Linked DNA regions of Homo sapiens: region 1 is linked to region 2. Evidence: promoter capture Hi-C in 16 types of primary human blood cells and fetal thymus (Javierre and others, 2016). All regions are on one chromosome and are shown on one strand. Each heading gives the region's core, a stretch centred on a gene start or on the middle of the fragment in contact. The rest is flanking DNA. Distances are from core to core; before and after follow the strand shown. Region 1 has its middle 170 kb from the start of NCAM1. Region 2 holds the start of NCAM1-AS1 (NCAM1 antisense RNA 1).

Region 1 (5,358 bases), core at 2,324-4,823, 480 kb before region 2:
ATCAATACTTAGCCAACATTCTACATTCAATAAGCACTTAAAAATTTCCTTAAAAACTGACAGTGTGACAGGCACATCGCTAGATCCTTTGCAAAGTGGAAGTCTTCAAGCACAAAATACTCATAGAGACAGGGATAAAAATAACGGGCCAGGCACGGTGGCTCACGCAGGTAATCCCAGCACTTTGGGAGGCCGAGGTGAGCAGATCATAAGGTCAGGAGATCGAGACCATCCTGGCTAACACGGTGAAACCCCGTCTGTACTAAAAATACAAATAATTAGCTGGGCATGGTGGCATGTGCCTGTAGTCCCAGCTACTCAGGAGGCCGAGGCAGGAGAATTGCTTGAATTCGGGAGGCAGAGTTTGCAGTGAGCCAAGATCGTCCCATTGCACTCCAGCCTGGGTGACAGAGTGAGACTCCATCTCAAAAAATAAAAAATAAAATAAAATAATAAAATAAAATAAACATAACGAACATACAACACAATGTAGTAAGTTCTACAGCGGAGCTCGTACAATATATACAAAGGACTCTGAGGCATTGGGAGGGCTGGAATGGAGCAGAAGGCAGACTTAGTCTTCCCCTGTGCCTAGAATAGGCTCACATTACAGACAGAATGAGGATGGCATTTGTAGTCCACATAGCCTAGCACTTAACTAGGTACTGCCTTCTGCTATTCAATTTAGCTGTTGCATACGAGATGTACCTCCCTCATCTAGATTGTAAGCACCATGAGGAGAGCAATTCTATCTTATGTTTGGGAAATTCTTCACAGCACCCAGCCAGATGCTAATCCCACTGGAAGTCCTCAAAAGGATACTTGGTGGATGACTCAATCCAGGGGATCATACAGCTATGAAGAATACCTGGCCAGCTACCAAATCCAGGCATCTGTGAGGTCTTGGAAGGAGTCTGATGGAGGTAGCAGGTGAAACTCTCTAGGTCAGAGGCAATGACATAACCCCAATATCCCTTTAACACAATGTTATTTCAAACATCCTTACAGTAAAAACACTTTTGTAGCCTCCAGGATATCCATATCCAAGATTCGGTCATTTTTTTTCTTGCAAATTTGTTACAAAAACTTCCAACACAATGAAATTATTTAGACAGTTTCTTGGAATTCACTGTTCACTTTAACAGAATTGAACCTAGAGTTGAAATGGACACAAACCTCACGGGTTATAGATGGGAATATTTTTCAGGGATTGTGGCATAGACAATCGGTTTAGTGAGGAAACACAGGTATTATAGGAGAAAGGGGAAGAAGGAAGGAAAGATGAAAGGGGAAAGGGATAGTGAGGAAGGGCAGGGATATGAGGTGAGTGGAGATAAGAGTGACTATTTGCAAAGATTTCCTGTTTGTCTTCACTTTCTTCAGATGTGGCTTTTTTTTTTTCTGGTCAGGGTGACTTGGCTCAGCCTAATGGGTTTGTTCTACTATCATTTTTATTGTTTACATCAATGGCTCACAATTTTGGCCACCAGTCAGGTGGGACCTTGGAAAGGCAGAGGACCCAAGGGTGCAAAGCCAGAGCATTTCTGGGTGTAGGAATTCAGAGAATGGATCACTTTAGAAACTGGGACTGTGAGGTCAGGACTCCATTCCTTCACATCTGGCCATAGAAGGTTATGACTGGTTTCCAAAGACTGGAAAGTCTTTGGCCTTGGGTACCAAGGACCTGCCCAGAGCATTGTTGGGTTATGACTACTACTATAATTCAGAGATGGTGGCTGAGCAAGCCTGTCAAAGATGAAAATGATGTTGAACTCAGGGCCAGCAGTGTCCAACAGCCGCATGCTGCCGGGTGTGGGTGTGTGGAGACAGCTGGGTGCAAATTCACAGCCAGAGAAAATTCTTGGGGATTTTCAACTGTCTTTTTTTCCCCCTCCAACAATGAATAGGGAGAACCCCAGACAGTAGTAAAAATAGCTCACACTCTCCCTCAAACCTGTCTGGCTTGAGTTTTTGGAAGGCCTGGGGGAAAAGTCACATTTGAAAGTGGAATTTATTTTGGTGATGATGACAGGAAGTTCAGCACTGAGGACAGAAGGCAGCTTTACAGAATAAAAGCCCTCTTCATTATACTATTTTTAAAAATTCCTTCCCACTGCCCCTCCAAAACAAACTGTTCCTTGATACTTTTATTACATTAATGTAATAAAAGTACACTGGAACAAATGCTTTTTTTTCTTCTTCTTTTTTTTTTTTTTTTTTTTTGAGACGGAGTCTCACTGTATCACCCAGGTAGAGTGCAGTGGCACAATCTTGGCTCGCCGCAACGTACACCTCCCAGGCTCAAGAATTCTCCTGCCTCAGCCTCCCAAGTAGCTGGGATTACAAGCACCTGCCACCACGCCTGGCTAATTTTTGTATTTTTAGTAGAGGCAGGATATTGCCATGTTGGCCAGGCTGGTCTCAAACTCTTGACCTCAAGTGATCCCCCAACCTTGGCCTCCCAAATTGCTGGGATTACAGGCATGAGCCACCATTGCCAGCCAGAACAAAAGCTTCTTAAAAGGCAGCAGTTTTCCTGAGAAGTTTTAATGTGGCGGGGTAAGTGTATGTCTCAGTCTCAGCCCTGCCACCTACCGGTGGTGGGAACCCAGCACAGGGTTGAAACACCTAACCTGACAGGCGGTTTCCTCATCTCTAATTCAGGATAGACCCGTCGGCCACGCCAACCTGAATGGGTTGTTATGGAGATAAAATCAGAAGATGTCTCTGAAATTGCTTTGTAAACTGTGAAGTTGCATCCACATGTAAAGCATTGGTATTAAGGAGCTGAATAAAGCCTCCATGGCAAGGAAAACTGTCAGTGAGAAGTAGAAATACTCCCCCTCACAGCGACGCCACAGGGGTGACAGCGAAAGAACAGCTGCTCAGCACCCGAGCTTGTCGGGAGAAAACACAGTGTCATCAGAATAAACCGCATAAATAGAACCCTCTTGGAGTCGTGCACCACCTGTTCCCACAGTTACCATCAGCCAGGCTTCACCACAACCCACCTACTCACGGAGGGCTGAGAGGACAGAAGAGAGGACCCTGTTTTACAGAGAGGTAAACTGAGGCCCAGGAGGGAAAAGCTCTTTCTTGTGGTCACACTGTGACCATGGACTTGAAAAGTCCCAGACTCATCCATTCCAGCACCAAACCCCACCTCCCTCATGATCCTCCTGACCAGCGCAGACCTGCTGCCAGTCAACTGCCAGCCCCCAAAGAGATCACTGGCCTGAGTTCTGAAACAGGCCACCCCCCAGCTGACCTGCTGTGAGCCACCCCTCCGAACTGACAGATGTACTCAGCCCGCAGCCTGCTGGCTCCGAGGACCTGACCTCTTGTCTTAGGAGGGAGTTGGACTGATGGGTAACACCTGCTTACCCCTCGGCAGGGCTGAGAGTCTTTCAGGCAGAACCAGTTTGGTCTATCTCTAACCCGCTAGTTGTTTGGAACCAGTGAACACAGAATGGAAAACAGAGTTCTAAATCCCCTTCACTCTTGAGGGGTCTTGGAAAACGCCGCTGCCAGGAGCTGGTATAAATCAGAGTGTTCTGAATGAATTAGGGATCCCATATTCTTCCCTCAACCCCAGCAAACCTCTTGGAGAGAGGCCCTGTGTGAGAGCATTAATAAATCACAGCTCAGTATAGCAGGTCGCTGGGCTGTTGGCACACTGTGGCTTTCCCCGGAGATGTGAGCGGCCGTGCAGAGCCTGTCAGAACTGGGGCTCTGAAGCCAGCCTGAACTTCTCACCCTGCCCTCGGCTGTGTCACCACACTGCTGCCCTCACTGGTGCCTCTTCTCCGCGGTGGCCAGCGATGCATATTATTCATTCAGATGTAGCTCCTGCTTAGAATGCGTGGTCAGCCCAGACTGCCCAGCAAGGGCCACCTGAGTTTTACTGGAACTCTGCTGCACTGTTTAGTTTACTCTTGATCCGGGCTGCTTTCATGCTATGAGGGCAGAGTTGAGTAGTTGAGACAGAGACCGCGTGGCCTGCAAAGCCTAAAATATTTACTGCCTGGGCCTTTACAGAAAAAGTGTGCCATTCCTGCATTATGTAGTTATCTTATTTAATTCTAACAATTACACTGTGAACTTGGTATGAGGACTTCTCTTAGAGGGGGAGAATCTGAAGATCAGTGTTTTAGTAACTTGCCCAAAGATGGACAACTGGTAAGAGGCAGAGCCCTTGCTCAGACCCTAGGTGTTTCCACTTCAAAGTCCAGATATACAATTCTGTCCCTCTGGGACACGTCCAGTCAACAGGCAAGACATGTTAGCACTACGGTGAAAGGTCTCATCTTTCTTGAATGGGAGAACCAGGTTTGAAACCATCATTTTGAACAAGGACTGGTTTAGGCCTATGTCATCCCCAGCCTTTCCCTCAGGTTCCAGATGGCAAGAAGCTGCTCTGAAGACCTACCAGGCAGGAGTCACAGCTTGTAAATAAACCTGAAACCCAGAAGAGCCAGTTAGGCTGGAGCAGCCCCTGGCCAGGCCAGGCAGAGTTACCATGACGACAGAGTCATTTCCATCACAAACCCTGCAACAGGCTTCCAGAAGGTGATTAATGGTTGACCTCTGGGGGCTGGGAACTCTCCCGGGGAGTATTCTTTCTAGTCTGGTGCAAAGCTTGGACCATCTACTTCTCTGCTCTCTGGTGGAGGTGAATATTGTAGTTGAGGATGCAGAGATAAAGCACCCCATCCCCTGACCTCCTAAATCCTGAAGTCAACCCAGGAAGCACCCTGTGAAAACCATGCTCCAGCCTTGAGCAGAGGCAGGCTAATCCAAGAAACTCAAGGGCAGACAAAAGAAAACAAGGGAAGCCAAGGGAATGAGTGAAAGACTATATAAGTTGGTTCATTCTTGCTGGATAAATGGCACCCACTCACCAAAGGGAGAAGGTACAAAAAAGAATTCAGCGAGGCAAGAAGCAGGTAGTGAAAAAAGGCGGGGGAATCCTACCTCCTTTGAGTCCAGAGAAAAGCCTTTTCTACAAACTCAAGAAGAGGGGGCGGAGAAGGACGGGCCGCCTGCCAAAGCAGTGACCCATGTTGATTGTGAATTTCAACAATAGTGACTTGAGGAGGCTCAGATGTCCCACGTCCCCTCGCCCATCGCCAATGGGTGGTCACCGACTGCCTGCCAGGTGGGGTGACCCGGGTTCTGCACCCCAACCTTGGGATGTCTGTTATAGAGCCATTTGGGGCTCATTCATTGACAGTTTTTCTCTCTGCTGACATTTGGGTGGCTCTGCCTGCCTAGTCATTGTTTTTGTTTGGCCATTTTCACTGTGGATGAGTCACTCCCCGTCGAACCCTGCAGGGGGCGGTCAGGTGCTGGCTGTGT
Region 2 (5,522 bases), core at 1,687-4,186:
CACTGGGTGGAGCAGAGCTGGAGCAAGCCAGAAAGGGACTGAGCAAGGAAATAAGTTGTTTAGCACCACCACATGCCAGGCACTGTATATGCATATACATGTATGTGCATGTACTTAGAAATGTATGTATAGGGGTGACTCACGCCTGTAATCCCAGCACTTTGGGAGGCCGAGATGGATGGATCATTTGAGGTCAGGAGTTGGAGACCAGCCTGGCTAACATGGCGAAGCCCCGCCTCTACTAAAAATACAAAAATTAGCCAGGCGTGGTGGCATGCTCCTGTAATCCCAGCTATTCAGGAGGCTGAGGCTGGAGAATCGCTTGAACCCAGGAGGCGGAGGTTGCAACGAACCAAGATCACGCCACTGCACTCCAGCCTGGGCGACATAGAGAGACTCTGTCTCAAAAAAAAAAAAAAAAAAAAAAAAAAAGAAAAGGAAAGGAAAAGAAATGTATGTATACCTGTGTACAGAGACAGATGTATGTATTTGAGCAATGATCTGTGTCAGGCACTGTGTTTAGCACTTCCCATGCATCCTTTCATTGAATTCTCATAACTAGGCAAAGTAACAGTGTTTTTGCCTCATTTTACAGATGAAGGGACTGAGGCAGGGTGATTAAATCTGAAGCTCAAGGTCACACAGCTAGCAAGGGTTGGGCTGAGACTTATACATTTGAATCTGTTGGCTCTGGATGCCCACCGTGCCAGCCTTGGGTTGAGTCATAGCTGCTCTTCCGTGGGAGCCCCTCCCTGCAGCTGCCCTAGGGTCTAACCAGCAGTACTGTCTCCACAGGAAAGATGAGTCCAAGGAGCCCATCGTGGAGGTTCGAACGGAGGAGGAGAGGACCCCAAACCATGATGGAGGGAAACACACAGAGCCCAACGAGACCACGCCACTGACGGAGCCCGAGTACGTGGGCTGGGAGGGGCTGGCACCTGCTCCGTAGAGACCCCCACACCCACCTCCCCACCCTACCCCCACCTCCCGTGCCCCTACCCACAGCTCCCGGCCAAACAGTTCAGGCCAGGATTCCAAACCCTTGGCCACAAGACCTGCTTGGCTGAGAAATGCCTGACCTCAGGCATTTCTGGTTCTATTTCGGTGGCTGTGGGTACCCTTAGAAGGCTCCTGTATAAGTAGGGATCCCTGGATCCCTAGCCCCTGTTCTCAAGTTATACACATATTCTGGAAATGGCTTAAGGTGGCAAAATCTCACTGAAAGGCTTAGCAGAGTCTGCTTAGGATTTCTTGAAATTCTAGGGTTTTGTGTTTTCCCCCTGAAAGGATAAGGGAAGCTGGGGACCTGGTAAAGTTCTCTGCCCCTCCTCTGTTCAGAAACCTCGGGGACCCACGGAGCCCCAGACCAGTTGTGGTTGTAATGCCTGCCTAGCTGTCAAGGATCTTATGGGCTTAAAGGGAATGGAGTTTCAGGGAACCACAAAATCTGTGACTGGAAGAACCCACAGCTCCTATGAGCCATTCTGAGTACTCGTGATCTGCCTTATTCGTGACTTTTCCCATCGGTGCCCTGGGGAGCCCTGCAGGACAGCTGGGCCCAGTTCCTCTGGGACCTGGGAAGCCTAGAGCAGGTGGATGCTGAACAGAAGCCTGCCCCTCCTTGAATGGAGATCCAGGGCAGGGATCAGGAAGCCCTAGGCAGGTCTGCAAGGACTTCAGGGAAAGGGAGCTCTATGCAGAGAGCTGGAGAGACATCAGCAGGGAAGGGCTAGCAGGTCCCTTTTGAGACCGCCACGTTCTCTGTCGTCTCCTGTGTCCTCTTCTGCCCACCTGGGCGTGTGCTTCCTCTCAGCATCCTTCTCTCTCTGTGGGCCTGTGTCCGTGCCTGTGCCTAACTGCATGCCCCCACCCCCATGGTCCCTGTCCTGGGCTTCAGCCCTCCTCCTCGCTTCTCTGTCACGTCTCAGCTTCATTGTCTATTCTCTTCTACTTCCTGTCCTCCCACAGGCTGCCTGCCGACACTACGGCCACTGTCGAGGACATGCTGCCTTCTGTCACCACCGTCACCACTAACTCTGACACTATCACCGAAACCTTTGCCACTGCTCAGAACAGCCCCACCAGTGAGACCACCACCCTGACCTCCAGTATTGCCCCGCCGGCCACGGCCACGCCTGACTCAAACTCTGTACCGGCTGGCCAGGCCACCCCTTCCAAGGGGCCCAGCGCCTCTGCCCCCTCCCCGGCCCCAGCTTCAGCCCCCAAGGTCGCCCCCCTCGTTGACCTGAGCGACACCCCGACCTCAACCCCTGCCGCTAGCAATTTGTCTTCTAGTGTCCTGGCTAACCAAGGGGCTGTCCTCAGCCCAAGCGCCCCTGCTGGTGTCGGGGAGGCCTCTAAGGCTCCTCCGGCCAGCAAGCCCACCCCTGCACCAGTCCCCACCCCGACTGGGGCAGCCAGTCCTCTAGCAGCAGCGGCTGCCCCTGCCACAGAAGCCCCTCAGGCCAAGCAGGAGGCTCCCAGCACCAAAGGCCCGGACCCGGAGCCCACCCAGCCCGGAGCCGCGAAGAGCCCGGCCGAGGCAGCCACAGCCCTTGCTAGCCCGAAGAGCGAGGCTGCCTCCGTCAGCACCACAAACCCTTCCCAGGGCGAGGACTTTAAAATGGACGAAGGGAACTTCAAGACCCCAGATATTGACCTTGCAAAGGATGTTTTTGCAGCCCTGGGCTCTCCTGCTCCCGCCGCTGGGGCCAGTGGACAAGCCCCTGAGCTTGCTCCTTCCACTGCAGACAGCTCTGTTTCGCCTGCGCCAGCAAAGACCGAGTACGGCCTCTCTTTGTCTGCTGTCATCGGGTTGTGTCCTGTGGTGGTGTGCATTTGTGCTGTGCTGTGTCCTCCTTGTTAGATGTGTCTTCAGCCTCATCCAGGGCTTCTCTGAGGCGACCGTCAACCAAGGGGCTGGGATAAGGCAGAGAGAGCAGGACAGGCAGCTGGGCCCCAGGAGCAGCCGCCTGCTGGCTAATTAGGCCATGTTAATTATGTTTTATCCTTATCATCCTAGCAGCGGCTTCTGTTTTCCCTGGGGGAGCCCTTGCAGTCAGGCCACTGATGAGAATAGCTTGGGAAGCAGGCTAAGAAGGCCAAGGTGCCCTTATCAGCCACCCTGGGGCCCCCAGTCGGTGTGTTATTCAGTGCCAGGCTGAGTCCCTACCAGAAAGGCACTGATGTGCAGGAAGAAAAGAGGTAGGCCCCAGGCCCGTGGCAGGGGAGGGTGCAGTTCAGAGGTCCCCTCACACTGTGGCTCAGATGCTCACCCTCCCCTCCCAACCCCGGCCCCCAGCCCACTCTTGCTTCTCCTGCTCTTAGAGTGGCTGGGAAGACTCGGGGCTCCCCAGCATCAAATGGCTGCTGGGTCTCAAAGTTCAAGAGAAAGGCCTTAACCTTTCAGGTTTGTAAGTGTCTTGCCAAAATTCAGTGGCACCAGCTGAGGCTGGGGTCTGTGCCTGTCCCCATGCATCCTCAGACCCGACTCCCTTTCCTGGAACTGATGGAGGCAGAGTCAGACCTAGATTTTTATAGAGGCTCCTATGGCTGCTCCCCAGATAAGCTGCCATGCTGCCACCATGGGCTGCAAGGGGCTCTCGCCAGGAGCCCTGAATCTCAGCATCGGGAGGGAAAAGGACTCTGATAGCCCTGCCCACTCAGCTGCCCTCAACTCTCGCATAGCCACCAGGCCCACTCTAGTACCCCACCAGGCTGCCATGAAAAGCTGCCTCCATCAGTGTTTTCTCACCCTACCCAGGCAGGCCCTAGAGGCATCATCCTGCAACAGCACAGGGTGGGGTGGGGAAGGGACAGGCAAGAGTGGGTTGCAAAGGGGCCCCTGAAATCAGTGCTGGGAGCCCAGCCCAGCCCAGCAGGCTGCATTTACATCCAGCTGAGCTGTTGCCACTGCAGCTGGTCAGGGTGAGGAGGAGCTGCCTCTGCTGCCCCCTTCCACCACCCCAGGTAAAAACACAGCCTCTGGCATCAACTTAGGGCTGGAAGAGGAAAGGACTCGTTCTTCTGACTCAGTGCTTCTCAACTATGGCTGCACATTAGAGTCACTTGGGTGCTTTTAAAAGTCACTGTGTCCGGACCAATTAAATCAGGATTTCCGCGAACACAGCTCGGGCTTGGGTGATTTTTAGTGCTCCCAGGTGATTTGACGGGCAGAGGTTGGAGCCGGGTGCTGTCACTGGAGAACCCCTCCTCCTCCCTGCTGTCCCCAAGGCCTGGATGCAGGGGCGAGATGTCTGCAGACCGTGGTCTCAGTGGTTCTGTTTTCCTGATTCTCTGCAGGAAGGGCCCCGTAGAAGCAAAGCCAGAGTGCCAGGAGACAGAAACGAAGCCAGCGCCAGCCGAAGTCAAGACGGTCCCCAATGACGCCACACAGACAAAGGAGAACGAGAGCAAAGCATGATGGGTGAAGAGAACCGAGCAAAGATCAAAATAAAAAGTGACACAGCAGCTTCACCAGAGCATTTCCAACACCACAGACACACACACGCACGCACACACACAAACACACATGCACACACACACATCTCATTTCTCTAGTGTCTTTTGCCTTTAAAAAAAACTAAACAGATAAAACATGGGAATCTCCTTTTTGTAGGTTTATAGAAAGGGTCCCTTTGTTGCACACTCACTTGTAAGAAAATGAGACAAAAAGGTTAAACCCACAGCCAAACTAGGACACTCCGTTCCCTGAAACCGTTAAAAAATCAAACAAAAGGACCCCAAATTAAGAATCTAGGAAGCTCAGAAACGAAATCTAGGTTCAGGAAGACCACACTTGGTGTTACCCGATTGGCACAGACCAGTTTCAGAGAAATACTTTCAGGCACTAAGACTAATCGAATGAACAAAGTCCACAGTTTATTTTTATACTTTCAGTCAAGTTTGAACTCTGTAAAACCTCATAAATAAGTTATAATTTCTGTTCACTTTGTATTTGTTCAGTATGCAAAGTGTGTCACCCTTTCTAGCTGAATTCAATTCCCACGTAGACTCTTATTTTATAGGACGAATGCCAAATTGCAGCTTCTGGGGGTAGATCTCAATTTGCAGTATTCAGACTTCTTTTTCTTTCTTTTACATTCTTTTTTCTTTCTTTCTTTCTGCCAACTTTGTTTTCCAGTGTTTACAAGGTGACAAATGTTTGACTTTGGTTGTGTTTAAATGTCCGTGTAAAATAGCTGCCTTTTATTTTTTAAGGTAACAAATACCACCTAGAGGTAGGTAGGATCATCCCACGCTTGCTTTAGCACAGGACAACTTTACAAAACATGATTGTTTACAGCTGCTCTTCCCCTCTTTTCTGATCTGCAGTTTTTGCCTGGGTCCCACTCAGGTGAAAATCCATCTCATTCTGGAATGGTTTTGCTTTTGAATTTTTGGTTATTTTTGTGTTTCTTTGGGGGTTAGACCACTTTCTGATTAGCCGCCACCTGCCTGCATCTGTGAAAAGGGATCTGCTCCCAGGCGTTCTCACCCTTCTTTTGAAGGACTCCTTAGGC

Evidence for each region. The method cuts DNA at HindIII sites, captures the fragments that hold promoters and counts their contacts. A CHiCAGO score of 5 or more calls a contact.
Region 1: a contact is called between a fragment that was not itself captured here and the fragment with the promoter of NCAM1-AS1 in region 2, in 3 of 17 cell types (M2 macrophages, M0 macrophages and M1 macrophages). The highest score is 6.8, in M2 macrophages.

What each region holds. Positions count from the first base shown.
Region 1 is chr11:112,792,778-112,798,135 of GRCh38, forward strand. No RefSeq gene overlaps it. Among named protein-coding and RNA genes, the nearest start is that of NCAM1, 170 kb to the right of the region's middle. RefSeq lists enhancers at 5,163-5,358, 5,229-5,278, 5,309-5,358. The HindIII fragment of the contact is 2,125 bases long and covers 2,512-4,636 here.
Region 2 is chr11:113,270,965-113,276,486 of GRCh38, forward strand. It overlaps NCAM1-AS1 (NCAM1 antisense RNA 1), which reads right to left and starts at 2,937. Exons shown (of 3, transcript NR_034101.1): 1 at 2,660-2,937. It overlaps NCAM1 (neural cell adhesion molecule 1), which reads left to right. Exons shown (of 20, transcript NM_181351.5): 19 at 796-912; 20 at 4,303-5,522. The coding sequence ends at 4,423. The HindIII fragment of the contact is 7,964 bases long and covers 1-5,522 here.